Linked DNA regions of Homo sapiens: regions 2 and 3 are each linked to region 1. The links are contacts of gene promoters, found by promoter capture Hi-C in blood cells and fetal thymus (Javierre and others, 2016). All regions are on one chromosome and are shown on one strand. The core of a region is centred on a gene start or on the middle of the fragment in contact, and the rest is flanking DNA. Distances in the headings are between cores, read along the strand shown.

The links. Contacts are between HindIII fragments. The CHiCAGO score rates a contact against its expected background, and 5 or more counts as called.
Region 2: a contact is called between a fragment that was not itself captured here and the fragment with the promoter of PTPRB in region 1, in 5 of 17 cell types (naive CD4 T cells, naive CD8 T cells, activated CD4 T cells and 2 more). The highest score is 7.2, in naive CD4 T cells.
Region 3: a fragment that was not itself captured here is called in contact with the fragment with the promoter of PTPRB in region 1 in 1 of 17 cell types (naive CD8 T cells); the score reaches 6.4 in naive CD8 T cells.

The regions. Positions count from the first base shown.
Region 1 is chr12:70,635,139-70,639,924 of GRCh38, forward strand. It overlaps PTPRB (protein tyrosine phosphatase receptor type B), which reads right to left and starts at 2,291. Exons shown (of 34, transcript NM_001109754.4): 1 at 2,203-2,291; 2 at 533-928. The coding sequence starts at 2,257. It overlaps PTPRR (protein tyrosine phosphatase receptor type R), which reads right to left. Exons shown (of 14, transcript NM_002849.4): 14 at 2,941-4,139. The coding sequence ends at 4,046. The HindIII fragment of the contact is 1,737 bases long and covers 1,336-3,072 here.
Region 2 is chr12:69,945,410-69,950,195 of GRCh38, forward strand. The region is part of intron 19 of MYRFL (myelin regulatory factor like); the gene reads left to right. Among named protein-coding and RNA genes, the nearest start is that of MYRFL, 120 kb to the left of the region's middle. The HindIII fragment of the contact is 1,502 bases long and covers 1,151-2,652 here.
Region 3 is chr12:69,966,658-69,971,443 of GRCh38, forward strand. No RefSeq gene overlaps it. Among named protein-coding and RNA genes, the nearest start is that of MYRFL, 140 kb to the left of the region's middle. RefSeq lists a silencer at 218-418. The HindIII fragment of the contact is 8,608 bases long and covers 1-4,786 here.

The DNA of each region.
Region 1 (4,786 bases), core at 1,041-3,540:
TGTGTTACCTCCAAAAGATATCTACCCCTAAACAGCAATACAAGAGATTTGCAAAAACACAACTATCTTCCAGTCTTATCAAGCACCATTCTGATGTTCTAATAATTTATTATAATTAGCAAATAGAAGTGTCTGTCAATAAAATCTAATAATTTTCCGATTACTGACTTTAGTCATTACATATATAGGCTGTGTATATGCCTACATCCATATTCCTACATCTAACAGTGCTTAACTGGCAGAGAAGAGAGGCTCATGAAATAGTTGTTGAATTAATAAAAGAAGCAAGACAAGAAGGGAAGGAAGAAAAAGCAATAGAAAAAGTTGGGCTTATTTTAATGAGGGTCATGAAGTTTTCCATCATTGGGCACGTCACCATCCACCTCCATTAGCTTATGAATCTTCCATAGGAAATATGTTGGGGCATGTGGACTTCCCTTAAATGTAAAACAAACAAACAAACAAACAAACAAAACCCCCAAGATATTTAGTAGAAAGACTTTCAGGATTTGCTCTGAAAGGAATAGCTCACCTTTTTGTAAACAGAGGCTTTCATTGACCAGTTTTCCCTCCTTGTTGACATCTATTTTCATCCAGCTATGGAGGTATTTCCTGGCCTTCTTGACCACTACTCTGGAGCCTTGTTTCTGGAGAAAGAGAGAGGCATTTTCCACCTCAAGGAAGCCTTCCTGATCATAGCAGGTCCATCGGGGTGCCTGGGAACAGCGGTCCAAGATGGCTGAGCGGGAGGGGCCGCGGGAAGAGTTGGAGATGGCCAAGCACAGTGCAGATTTAACATGAAGGAGCTTTTCATCCTCAGTCCACATCCACTGCTGGTTCTGGATGGTCCTGTTGCATGAGCCCACGACCACTTTCTCATTTTTGAAAAGACACTGTTGTTTCTGGACATGGACAATCTGAAACCCTTCTGGAAGATGAAAAGCTCATAAAGCACTATGTAGCAAATTATGAGGCCCATTAGAAAACGGAAGAACCCACCCACAAATGAGCTAAATAAAATCACTAGTTTTACTTATATTTTGTTATTTCTATCATTTCAAGTGAACATTCTCATATTTAACACATGTGATTTAAAATTCCAAAGCTGACGATATAAAATGTCAATATGTTACACTTAACTCCCCATCTTTTTTTTTTTTTTAATTTTCACATGCTTTAGGGGAAAAAAGCACACCTCTTATTGGAAAATGAAAGGAAGCTTGGAAAGAAACAAAACCATCCAAAGTATATAGTATATTTTAGCCCAATTAGTTAGATATGCTGAAGTTATGAAATGCTCAGCTCCCTTTTTAACCATTTGACATATTCGATATAAGCTTCCTCCCTTACCTTAAAAAAGCACCCCCTTTTCCAGTCTTTAAATTCACATTGCAGTATTTATATACAAATTTCATAGTTTGAATAACAATTTTTTAAAATTGCATACATTTATCAAAAAATAAAACAAATTTTCCCACTTCTCCAAGCACAACCTCCTAGCTAATTGCAGCCAATGAAAGTATTGATTATCACAAACTAAATTTCCTTTAGTCGTGGAGAGGAGCATTTCTCTATTTTATGACAATATCTACAGTTTTCTCTCAAATACGAATAGATTTTCTAAAAATCATCATGTGCCAGTGTAAGAAAATTAAACATCAAATTGCTAAACATCAGTATTAAAGAGCAAGATACTCTGGCTCAGAAACCATTTTCAATGAGGTTTTACTTAAATTGCCCAGCTCGCTCATGAAAATGTTCAGCCCTCCCAAATGACAACTTCCAAATAAAACACACTACATTTCCTCACCCCCTTTAATCATATTCCTTCAATTTTCTTTCTTCAACACAAAAGAAAATAAAACTATAACCGGGTCGGAAAAAGGCTTGGGGAAAGCCACAGACTGTTATATAATAATACAAACTTTTCCTCGGGGTTCTTTACGCTCTGCTCTAAATGTATCATTTCAGGGGCTGCCTGAAGCATTTGGAGGATGAGAGGAGAGCATTTATTTTCTTTTGGAGAGAAATCTCAACAGTATGGGCATAGCTGGCTCCTTTTATTCCTGCTTTTCATCGTCTTTGGCTAAACTGCCATGGAGACCTGGCCCCTTCTACCTTATTTCAGACACTTCAAAGACCAGGGACTCCTTGGCTAGATCTTGAAGAAATGCCTCAGGACACTGAGGCAGACCCACTCACCTGAGTTCCTGAAGATCAAGCAGGTAAGAATCACCATGTAAAATTCAGCCTCCATTTTCCACTTAGCAACTGTTCATGCTTCGCTTGGGGAAAAAAAAAATTCTCCCAGATAAGAGAAGCAAAGACTAGGAAGGAAATGTGCCTTCATGGTGGGGGGAAAAGTCAGTGACGAGCACTTCCTCCTATTGAATTGTTTGGGGAAGTTTTACACCAGTGTCCTTTTGTCTGTTTCCTTAGAAAGAAGGGATTATGATTACCTCTTTTTTTTAATGTAGAAAATATTCCAGCCTTCAAGAGCAGAGTAAATCTCGTTAAGACCTCACCTACCTTTCCTTTGGCATGTGACTGCTTCTTAACCTCAAGAAGAAAGAAAGGAATTGAAATCTCAGATAATTGAATGTTCCTGAAACATTACATCTCTTCAGGTGATGTGATTCTGCTGAATAAACATAAGCCATGTAATTGATGAGGGTCTATGACAAGTGATATAAAGACATAAACATGTACTGTTTGTATAATGATATGCTGCGAGTCTATTGAGGAAAACCACATAATGATGGCACTTCTAGATCATTATCTCCCAAGTGATGACAATATTACATTTTGAGATCGTCATCTTCACTGGGGAGATGCAGACACTAAAATTAAACCCATCACATTATCTACTTTGGTCTTCCCCAAACAGAGGATGGCGTCTTTCCAAATAGAAAAAAAAAAAAGAATATGCTTTACTCAGTATTTAGTATTAAGAGTTTATTGGCAGTATGAAACAAAGTCAACATTGCTGCATTAAAAATTCATATATGAGCAGAACAGCTAGTGTTTGCTGAGGGTAGTTATTTTAATTTTTTTTGTCTCTTGAAGATTGAAAGCTTTCAGAAATGTAAGGACATACATGGAAATGTCCTTATAAGGAGCCTCGAAAATGGGACAGATTATATCATTCCTGAAGGCATATACCTTTTGTTGAGAGAGAGATTCCAGGTAGATAGCATATTCAAAAATCCCTTCTTAGCAAAAGAGAGACAAGTAGTTAAAACTCTTGATACTTCAGAGTTGCTACAAATTTGTTTTTCCCTTTTAAAGTAAAATGACTCACGATGTGGAAATACAGTGGATAGAGTTCTGGAGCAGAAGCCACCTTTATGCCCAATAATAGAGAGTAAATACATATATACCCAATGACAATCATTGTGCTCTGTAATTGTTTGATAGGAGGGACTATAAATACACATTTAATAGGTAATATTATCAAGACACATTTCCATATAAAATAGTTACTGTTTTTGATTTTTGTTTTTCAAAAACAAAGACTTCTCTGTTAAAAATCCATTATCAATCACTTGCAACTTTAGCAGCAAGATTCTGGTAACTGAGAAAGGTAATAGCACTTCAAAACAGGAACAGTTTAACAGCTGACAGTCCATTCACAAGACAGATTTTGCAAACATTAAAGCATCTAACACATAATACGAATGTCTTCAGCAGCTCATCCAGTCATCACCTGATGACATTTATTACTGAATATTACATACATACATTCTGTGTGGCAGATAGAGTCAGTACAGACAAAACAAAATCTGCCTTAGGCTGTGTGATAAACCTATCATACCTCCATCATCAAAAAACCTTCAGAATAATTTGGGGGATGCTTACAAATGCATTCATATACACAAGGAGCTGGAAATCTTAAATATGTTGCCCAGTCTTCCACAATCCATGCCATACATGGGCTTCAGAGCTTCTCCTTCCTTCCATTGCAGGAAGCTCCTTCTAGAAGCCTTGGGTGGGTAATTTGATTAATCACCCCAAGAGATTGATGGTCTGACAAGTCTTCAATGACTCACTGGACAGTCTCTGCTGAAAGTCTGCTCTCATACAGGCACAGAGCATGGTGCACAAATTCATACTGCTCACTGGTTTGCACCATTCCACCTCTGCAAGGAAGAAATCATAAAATAACTGATTTTGCTAAAATCTTGCAATTTCAAGTAACACAGAGATTTCATCCAAGCTAGGGTATTATGCCAAAGACACATAGAACAGTCGACCTAGTGGTTCTTTTGTTATCCCTCTTACCTGTGTCCAAATGTCTCAACTATCAAAGTTAACATGGTAATGTATATAAAGGGCTTAACACAGTTCCCAGCACACACTAGGCACGTGATTAATTTTTACCTGTGTAACATTACTGGGGAGGTGGTACAGCCTAATGATCAAGTACTTGGATTTGGCATCAGCCAAGGTGAGTTCAAATCCCTCCTCTGCCAATTCTTAGCTGTATGCATCTTGGACAAATTCCTCGAAACCCCTTGCACTTTAGTTTCTTCCTCTGTTAAAGCAGGATAGTAACAGTAACTACTGCTGTGAAGGTTAAATAAATTCATTGTAGCTGGTATATTTGTATTACTTCTCAGGTGCCTCATGATTCATCTCTTGTTAAAATGGTTTATACATTTGGCTTAAAATTGATTGACGGAGACAAACCAAACAAAACTCATCTGCAAAATGTTGCTTTCTACAAGTAAAATGAAGTCTACCTTGGAATGGTTTATTTGAATATGTTGTACAGAAGCAACCTTAG
Region 2 (4,786 bases), core at 652-3,151, 690 kb before region 1:
GATACACAAATACTTACCATTGTGTTACAATTGCCAACAGTATTTACAGTAACATGCTGTACAGGTTTGCAGCCAAGAAGCAATATAGCCTAGGTGTGTAGTAGGCTATACAATCTAGGTTTGTGAAGTACACTTTGTGATGTTTGTACAACAGTGAAATTGCCTAATGACATATTTCACAGCATCATGTAGTTAAGCAATGCATGACTGTATTGGGAAGAATAGCCCTTATTAAACCAGATCAAGGCTCGTTGCTCTCTGTGACAATACAGAATTTTCATGTTAAAAAAATTATAGGCTGGGCGCGGTGGCTCACGCCTGTAATCCCAGCACTTTGGGAGGCCGAGGCGGGCGGATCACGAGGTCAGGAGATCGAGACCATCCTGGCTAAAACGGTGAAACCCCGTCTCTACTAAAAATACAAAAAATTAGCCGGGCGTAGTGGCGGGCGCCTGTAGTCCCAGCTACTTGGGAGGCTGAGGCAGGAGAATGGCGTGAACCCGGGAGGCGGAGCTTGCAGTGAGCCGAGATCCCGCCACTGCCCTCCAGCCTGGGCGACAGAGCGAGACTCCGTCTCAAAAAAAAAAAAAAAAAAAAAAAAAAAATTATAGAAACTTAATCAAGGGCTACAAGTGTAATCATGTCCATAAGATTATATACAATTCTTCCAAATGTATACTAATTTATTATTGTTTTTAGAAATGTTCCCCTAAAAGCAGTAGCCTAGAAACAAGATGAGTGTCTGCTCATCTTGTTTCTATAGCTATGTAAACTTCTAAAGAAAGAAGTGATTCCCAAGGAAAGAAAATTTGCTCCATGGTGCCAGGCTGTGTCCACCTAGACAGAACTAACTGCTTCTTTGACTACAAATGAAATTTATGTTGTGCCTTACTAGGCTCTGTGATACACTGGGAAAGTTGTTATCTCTTCCTTTTGTCAACTGGAGAAAAATGGAAAGAATTCAAATGTTTGATTCACTTTTGTCTTCAGAAAACCCAAAAACTTTTGGAAATTTAGTCACAGAATCTCAGAGAACAGCTACGCAAGTGGCACCTGACTTTTTGGCCCCGAGAATCCACTATAAGCCTACTTTTACAATGATGTGATTGAGAAAATACATAAAGAACAAATGTAACTATAAGTTCAGTTAAGCTTTTAACTGAATTGTTTTTATTACTCCAACAGTGGCGTTTGAAAAATAGTACAAATCTATAGGAGATATGTTGCTTTTCAAGTCTACAGACAACACCACAGACCCCTTTATGCAATCACCCAAGGTTCCAAGGACCCCATGTCAGGAGAACTGCTGATTTATACCAAATTACCCATTTTGCAGCTGATGAAATGGAGGCACTGGACCTTGCTTAAGATTCCTCAGTTGAGTTTCTAGAAAAGTTGGAATTGAAATCTGGGTCCCCCACTTCCCTGTCCTGGATTCCTTCCCATTTGCTATCCTGCCTCCATTGATTTGGACATGGGCTGTGCATGTACCTGAGATCAACTCTAGAAGGTGCAGAAAGTATCCACTCTATGGCCCCTTCTGCCTCCTCCTGGCAAGTTTGCCTCTGTCCATTGCAATGTCCCTGATGTGGGATATTTTGGAGTCTGAGCAAAGCCTCTTCTCTTCTGCTGCTGGTTTACTCTTCCCCTCTGTTCAAGGTACTGTATAACACCAGGCTTCTAAATACAAAAGAGGAGAAGTCTAGGAAAGTATTCTTTTCAGCCAGATGTTTCTAAAGCATTAAAGACCAATTAAAAATTAAGGAATAAAAATAAAAAAGAAATTCAAGAGTAACAAAAAAAACTTAGAAAAGCTCTCAGTGGGATGCAGAGTAATATCTAACAGTTTACTAAACCCCTAAACACATTTATGAGCCTCCTCCCTGAGGAGTAAGACTATAATAAAATAAGTGAAGGGAAATCAACATTTTTATGACATGCTGAGCTCATGTCATTATTCTTCTTTTGGGCCAAAGTTGATCATATCTGTGTAAAGTGTCTTTCAGAAAGGTTATCTCTCCCTCTCCCCCTCACTTAATAAAAAGTTTGGGTAAGGCTAATCAGGAAGTGGAAAGTGAGTATTTTGGAATATTGAGCTTCTACTCTAAGGAACCATCTGAATGTGATGAATTAGATTTTAATCCATGGAACCAGTAAAGATTTAAGTAGACAGGAGAGTTAGATATTAAAAAGTAAAGAGCCTGTGGAGAAAAGCATCTATGGAATTCTATAGAATATATTAGAGTTGGTGAAGATTTTTTAAAAATCTGGAATTCATGCTCATTTTGTTTTGGAGACCATGACTCTGAGAAAAGTGAATGGCCAGAAGAAAATGGTCCCCCATTTTAAAGAACTCAGCCATCGACTGGTGGGGCTCATTGGCTTCTTCATAGTGCATGAGTCTGGTTCAGTGAAGGGAAGAGAAATGTATCCAAGATGCTGTACTGGACTCAGCCAGTACAAGTACAACACAGTCTTACAAGTAGTGCAATATACACCTTCTACCATGACAGGAGTATGCTTTTTTTGGGCACCATCCTAAATCTTTACTCTCCAGAAGTTTCTAATTTAGTTTGTTGGGAGAGCTCATCTACCAATTGTGAAATATATCTCCAACTTTATAATGAAAACTGCAGGGGATGTACTATATGAAGCTTATAATGAATATCACTGGAAGGCATTTGTAAAATGAGATCAACCCTAGAAGGTGCTGAAAGTATGACTTTATGACTTCCTGTATGACTACTGGAAGATTTATGGGTTTCTTATAACCAGCCTTTCAGAGTCAAATAGTCTTGTTTCAGAGAAGTGTCAAATGGAAGGTGTTTTATGGGAGATTTAAATCTTATTTCTTGCGTTTGAAAAATCATTTTTATAATTCTGATCTGCAAGATTATCTTTCCTCATTCCCACCTATTTATTGCTGTTTTTTAAAAAAAACCTTACCCCACCAGGTACTCAATTGTATTCATAGGGTTCTATGTCTCCAGGACCTGAAAACACAGTTCTGTGGAAGAAGACAAATCTGTAGTTCTGTTGCCAGAATTTATAACGAGCTCTTTTTCTGCAAATTCAGCAGGCAAGTAGGACAAAAGGTAGGAGAAGAAAACACACAGGATAGAGAAGTCCTGGTTTCCACTTCTCTTTATGCCTCATTTGCGTTGTAAATTTACAACCTTCTGTGGAAGCAGTCTTAAGCAAAACTAATAGTAGAGACGTGTTTGAAAATTATTACTGGAATAGCTAGAATCCAAGAAATCTGGAGGACTTTTTGGCAGCATATGTGTTTACTTGTAAAGGAAAATAAATATTCAATTTTCTAGAAACTCCTCATATATCAGGACCCATTTCTTCTTAATGGAAAGCACCATGTTGGGTTCAGAAACTTGCCCTGCCTTCCAGTTCTGTCTTGCTTCCTTTTGCTAATAGAATAAGGAGTCTAGCTTCCCATGTTCTTTCTCAGCATCCCTCTGCACCCTTCCCCTGGGAACTTTCCCTGTGAATGTGTAAGAGGAAAGTTTTTTGGAGGTTAAATTGGTCTTCCCTCTTCTTTTCCTTACTCTTTCCCTGGCTCTCTTCCTTCCATCCTTTCACCCATATTCATTGAGCACCACTGTGAGCCCAGCATTACCCTATCTGGGATACAACAGTGAACAGGATGTAGTCTTCAAGGAGCTCACAGTTAGGTGAATGGGTAAGTAAACTAGTCATTCCACCTAGTGAAAGGAGTTGTAACCAGGATAGGGATGTTTAGGAGTGATTGTCCCCAAGTATTGTGTACTGTTGCTTTTGCTTTCTATCCTGAAACTTGAACATAGATCTAAATCTGCAAATTAAAAAAAAAAAAAAGACTGCCAAAACTTCATAAAGTTATTTTGTTAGGTGTACTTAGCGACCCACTAAATGATTGCTTTCACTATCTACTTTAAAAAGATACATTAAAAATATAGCCTTAACAACATTCATCTGAATGGTTACCTTTCCAAAATTGCATTTAAAATGCCTTTTGGGTGATGACAGGAGCCTAGCCACTCCCTGGGCTCCCTCCCTGCAAGCCTGCTCTGGCCCCACACCAGCAGCCTGATTCCTCCCTTCAGCTGGCTGCATCTCAGGCCTTACTTTAGACCAAGCTTGTCCAACCCGCGGCCCATGGGCCGGCCACATGCGGCCCAGGACGGCTTTGAATGTGGCCCAGCACAAATTTGTAAACTTTCTTAAAACATTATGAGATTTTTTTTTTGTAATTTTTTTTTTTTTTAGCCCTTCAGCTATCATTAGTGTTAGTGTATTTTATGTGTGGCCCAAGACAATTCTTCTTCCAGTGTGGCCTAGGGAAGCCAGAAGACTGGACACCCCTGCCTTAGACTTTAAGCTCAATTTTTTTCCTACATGGATCACATTTCACATTTTCCCAGAATAGCAAAATTGTGGACTCTGGAATTAGATGGTTTGAATTGGAAACTCTTTATTCCTATCCACAAGCTGAGTCCTTAGTGCCTCACTTAGCTTATCTGTCAAGCGGGGATAACCTCACTCTTGGACTTTTGTAAGGCACTCAGAACAATGTTCAATGAAGAGTAGGTGTTAACAAATAGTAGGTGTAATTATCATTGTTATCCTTCAGTGCAAAAATATATGTCCCACAGAATTTCCTCTAACATTTCATGTTCAAGTTATTAAGCAATTGGGAAAGCATGCTCAATTTTTTTTTTTATAAGTTTTGCTTATCTTTAGAGACCACAAACTCTACTTGTATGAAGAAGGTTAACGTTTCATTATTTTACTG
Region 3 (4,786 bases), core at 574-3,073, 670 kb before region 1:
CAATGACTGATTCATCCCCAGGTACTGCTGTCTCTCTGTGCTACCATAGAGATAAAATTTGTGTAGTGAGCAAGGGCCACAAGTCTTTTGGTCACTCCACCCATTTATAAATAAAAAGTTTTCCTTCCTAAAGAAAGTTTACTTCTATTTTTAAGTCTCAGGTGTTCATGGTGGGAAGAGCTGGGAGAATCTAAGTTCTCCCTGCATGCCTTTCCCCTTCTTTTGGTAGCAGCACCCTGATTTTTCCTTTAGTGAACTCTCATGCCGTAGTGCTCAGTCTCTATGAATCAGGTGAGGCTGATACCATCCCATCGCTCCAGAGAAGAACACATGACTCAGGCTTTGGCAAAGACAACATTTCATTCCCTTGGCTACAGTGATTGCTTTAGGGGTAAGCATATGACCCAGGTTAGGCCAGTCACACTCATCCTTGGGTGTCTGACTGAAACCATAAGCAAAGAGGTACTCTCTGTGGACGTTATTAAGCTGGCAAGAATAAGCCTGGAGCTTCTGAGAACCACCTTGCCATCATGGTGGGCAGCCTGCCAGAGAATGAAGCCAACACAAATGAAAATAGAAGATATGATATGAGAAGGGCAGGTCTTTAACCAGATAAGAAATTTACATTTAAATTCCCATGAAAGTCCCCCATGGACTTAGCAGTTAGGTGGACTGCACATTTCCATTTCTCTTTAGTTAGGCTGAATTTGGATTTTGCCACATTGCCAAAAGAGTTCTGATGAATACTGGCTCTTATGAAGACTCTTTCAACACTTTGCAAGCAGGATGCCCAACTGGCTGATTCCAAATGCTGATACCTTATTTATGAGGTTGTTGGTTATCATTCAGGGTTTGGAAGGTGGCTCTCCTCCATTCCCTAATGGCTTCCCTCCATTTACCTCTCCTCCATTCCCTAATGGCCGCTAAGTCCTAAGTGGATATCAAAGACATCTTGTATTTGTATAGTGCTTTCATTTTACAGTTCTACAATTATTTCTCTCTCCTATTTTATTTTTATTTTTGGCAAGGAACAAAAACTCAAAGTAACTAACAAACAGTGGGTTTATAATATAAGAATGTAGAAGAATTGCACACCAAATGTAGGACGTGTAGCTGAGCTTCATGAGAACTAAGAGAGTCACTAGAGGCTAATCTCACCATCTCTCTCCTTAGAAGTCCACATGACATCTGCCTGCTTCTCTCTACAAGCCTGCCTCATTCTTCTTTCTTCAGACCACCTGTTCTGCTTGCTCATTTGCTTGCAACCATCATGGCCACCCTAAAATGTAGTCTTGGACCCCAAGTCTCCATTAACTTCCAGCTTGGTTCTCCAGGGCTAAATGACTCAGTATCTCAAGTTTTAAATTCCTATGAAAGAGAATCTGACTGGTTTAACCTTGCTCAGCTATCCATGTGGGGTTTAAGCAGCTGTGGCCAGGGAAATGTAGTCGGTAAGGCTACCTCTTTCAGGCTAGGGTTGGTGGTGGTGGATAGATTTTGTAAGTAGGGAAGAAAATTATAAGCATTTTCAGTAAAGACAGTGTATCTCATTTGGTCCTCATATTTCTGAGAGGCAGAAATTATTATTATTCCTATTTTACATAAGATTTAGGATAAGCGGCTTGTTTGAGGCTATACAACTAGGAGGTGACAACTGTAGGATTTTAAACTCAAGACTTTTCACTTCAGATCGCAAGTGGTTTCCTCAGCACTATTCTGTCAATGCGAAATTACATGGTCTCACTTTCTTGAGCATCACAAACATATCCAGTCTTGATTTTTAAGGATTTGTTTTAACAGCACTAACTTATGGTTTTAAATCAAACATAGCAGTGATCCAGAAAGAAAAGGATGAAGAAGAAAATCTGAACCATAGGTCTTGGATGAAGCCCTGTTATCCATTAATGAAGAAGTGAGCAAGAGTGAAAATCCTGTTGGGAAAATTTCAAAGGAAAAAGTAGTTGGTTAATGGAGGGCCTGTGCTTGGGGCATGTGTGTGGCTCACTGCTGCTGCAGGGGTTTCAGCGGTAGTTAAGACAGCTGGAGATTCAATTCCTAATTGAAAGGTTTGAGCAGTAAATTCTGCCAATTGAATGATGGATCTCATCATGAAGTATTCTGTCTGGGTCTTCTGTAAATATGGATAGCTGAATCTCAGATTTATAGTTCATGCTGCCACAAACTCAGACTTTCCTACTCTGTTCCTTACTTCCCATCTTTCACTAGACTTAGAGTAGACAGAGGAAAGCAAATGTTTGTTAATACCATTACAAAGTTACATAATTTTTATAATTTTAATTCATACGAATTGTGGAACTCGTCTCTAATGTGACCTACTCTGGAGGACTCATCCCTTTCCCCCATCCCACCACTCTCAAATCCCACCTTAAATAGTTCTGATGTCCCTGAGGGTCCATTCTTAGTTGTGATGTGACAGTTGCCATTCTCCTTTTCTCTTTTGTGGCTCCTTGGGGAATTATCTTTGGTCACTACCATTACCAAACTTAGTGGCTCACACATCAACACTTACCGAAGATGTCACAAAACAGGTGCTGCTGTTACTGCCATCAGTGTCTGTGCCTTGGCAGCTTTAGCCAAACCAGTGTTGAGGGCTCTCACTGCCACTGGAGGGCTGGGTCTGTGTCAGGCCTCCACCTCAAGGTGGGCTGTGCTAAGCCAGTTCTTTGTTGGCAGCCTCCTCTTCCTAGGATTCAGCCTAAATTGACTTAATGCCGCTTGACGTGGAAGTTGGGCCCTACTGTGTTAAAAATATCTCCCACCCAGAAGCTGCTTTTGTCCTAGAGCCAAGCTACTGGCCTCTACTTGCTTCTCCTGGGATAAGCGTTTTGGTTTTTCATGTACAAAGATCCTGGGAACTCACCTCATTTTCAGACATGCTTGAATCATAGTTGAATATAGATTTTAGAACAAAATATAAACAAATACATGTGAATATATGGGACACTTTCTGACAGGTTTTCCAAAGTTATCAAATAGTGTTTTATATAATCCCACCTCTGAGGTAGGGTAAAACTAATTCGTATTGGAAAAGCAATGGATCCCAGGACACATATGCTCTACTTTAGCTCCTGTGTTTCTGGGCTTGGAATCCTGGTGATCAGGGTCGTCCCAGGTAATGCTATGTCTTACACCCAGAGACTTTGTGCTCAGCAGCTAGACTTTCAAGGAGAGAGTGCTACTGTCCTTTTATAGACTCACTTTTTTTTCTTTTGTGACAAGAGCCAAACCAACCAACCAGATAAAAAACTTAAAATACCACTATTCTTGAGGAGCACACAAACCCAACTGGAATACTCCGCAGGTGAGACACTCTCCAGCTGAAAGATTTTTCTCTCCCCTGACACATTTCTGCTCAGAACAGATCTCTGACCTTTGAAGTTTTAGACCAATCTGTGTGCTAATAATTCATTAATGGGTTTTAGTTTTTCATTCACATCTTAGTCACAGACTTTCTGGAACAGATTGTTTCTTAAATCAAATTTAGGACATCTACTTAAAGTACTTTTGAAATGCAAAGATTTTTTTTTGTAAATAGTGATTTCCAAGTGGAATCATTTTGTTTCTATTATGACACTGACAGGTTATTAAAATCTATACGTTTAGATGTTAGATGGGTAATTTTTGATCAGGGGAATGGAAAGTGGAGAAAATAACTGGTGAAAAGAAGGAACAATAATTGTGTGTGTGTGTGTGTGTCTGTGTGTGTCTGCGTGTGTGTGTGTGTATTGTGTCCATGCATGTAAAATGAAGTTGAGCTAGCCAAAAGTCAAGGAGTTCTTACATTCTATCTATCCAATCCCTAGTGTCTTAACAGGTTCATAATTGTATTAAAAGGACGTTTTGGCAGTTAGGAAGCTGAGACTGTTCAAGTCTGTGTAAAGGGTATTTGTGAAGCACCTGTGATGTGTCTGTCATAGGAAACAGGGATGTAATCAAATATAAATTTATAATAAGGCATCCTCTTACTCTGAGTTGCTACTTTTAACTGTTGATCCCAGGCACTCTTAGCCGGAAAGATTAAAATTCACCTCAACTCCACTTTGGCTGCTGATGTGGTTTGGGTGTCCCTGCCCAAATCTCATGTCGAATTATAATTCCCAGTGTTGGAGGTGGGGCCTGGTGGGAGGTGATTGAATCATAGGAGTGGTGCTTCATGAATGGTTCAGCACCATCCCCTTGGTACCGTACTAGTGACAGAGTTCTCATGAGATCTGGTTATTTAAAAGTGTGTGGCACCACCCCCTCCCTTCCTCCTGCTCTGGCCATGTAAGATGCCTGTCCCCATTTGCCTGCTGCCATGATTGGATGCTTCCTGAGGCCTTCCCAGAAGCAGAGGCCACTATGCTTCTTGTACAGCCTGCAAAATTGTGAGCCCATTAAACCTCTTTTCTTTATAAATTTCCCAGTGTTAAGTACTTCTTTACAGCAATGCAAGAATGGACTAATATAGCTGTTAATTACATTCAGTCTCAAATTTAACAATCTTTCCCGGGGTTGAGACAGTTTTGTATATGTAGATGTGTTAATCGTTCATTCTCATGCTGCTATAAGGACATACCCGAGACTGGGTAATTTATAAAGGAAAGAGGTTCAATTGACTCACAGTTGCGCATGGCTGGGGAGGCCTCAGGAAACTTACAATCATGGCAGAAGGGGAAGCCAAGATGTCCTTTTTCACAAGGTGGCAAGAGAGAGAAGTGCGGAGCAAAGGGGGAAAAGCCCTTTATAAAAACTATCAGATCTCATAAGAACTCACGCACTATCC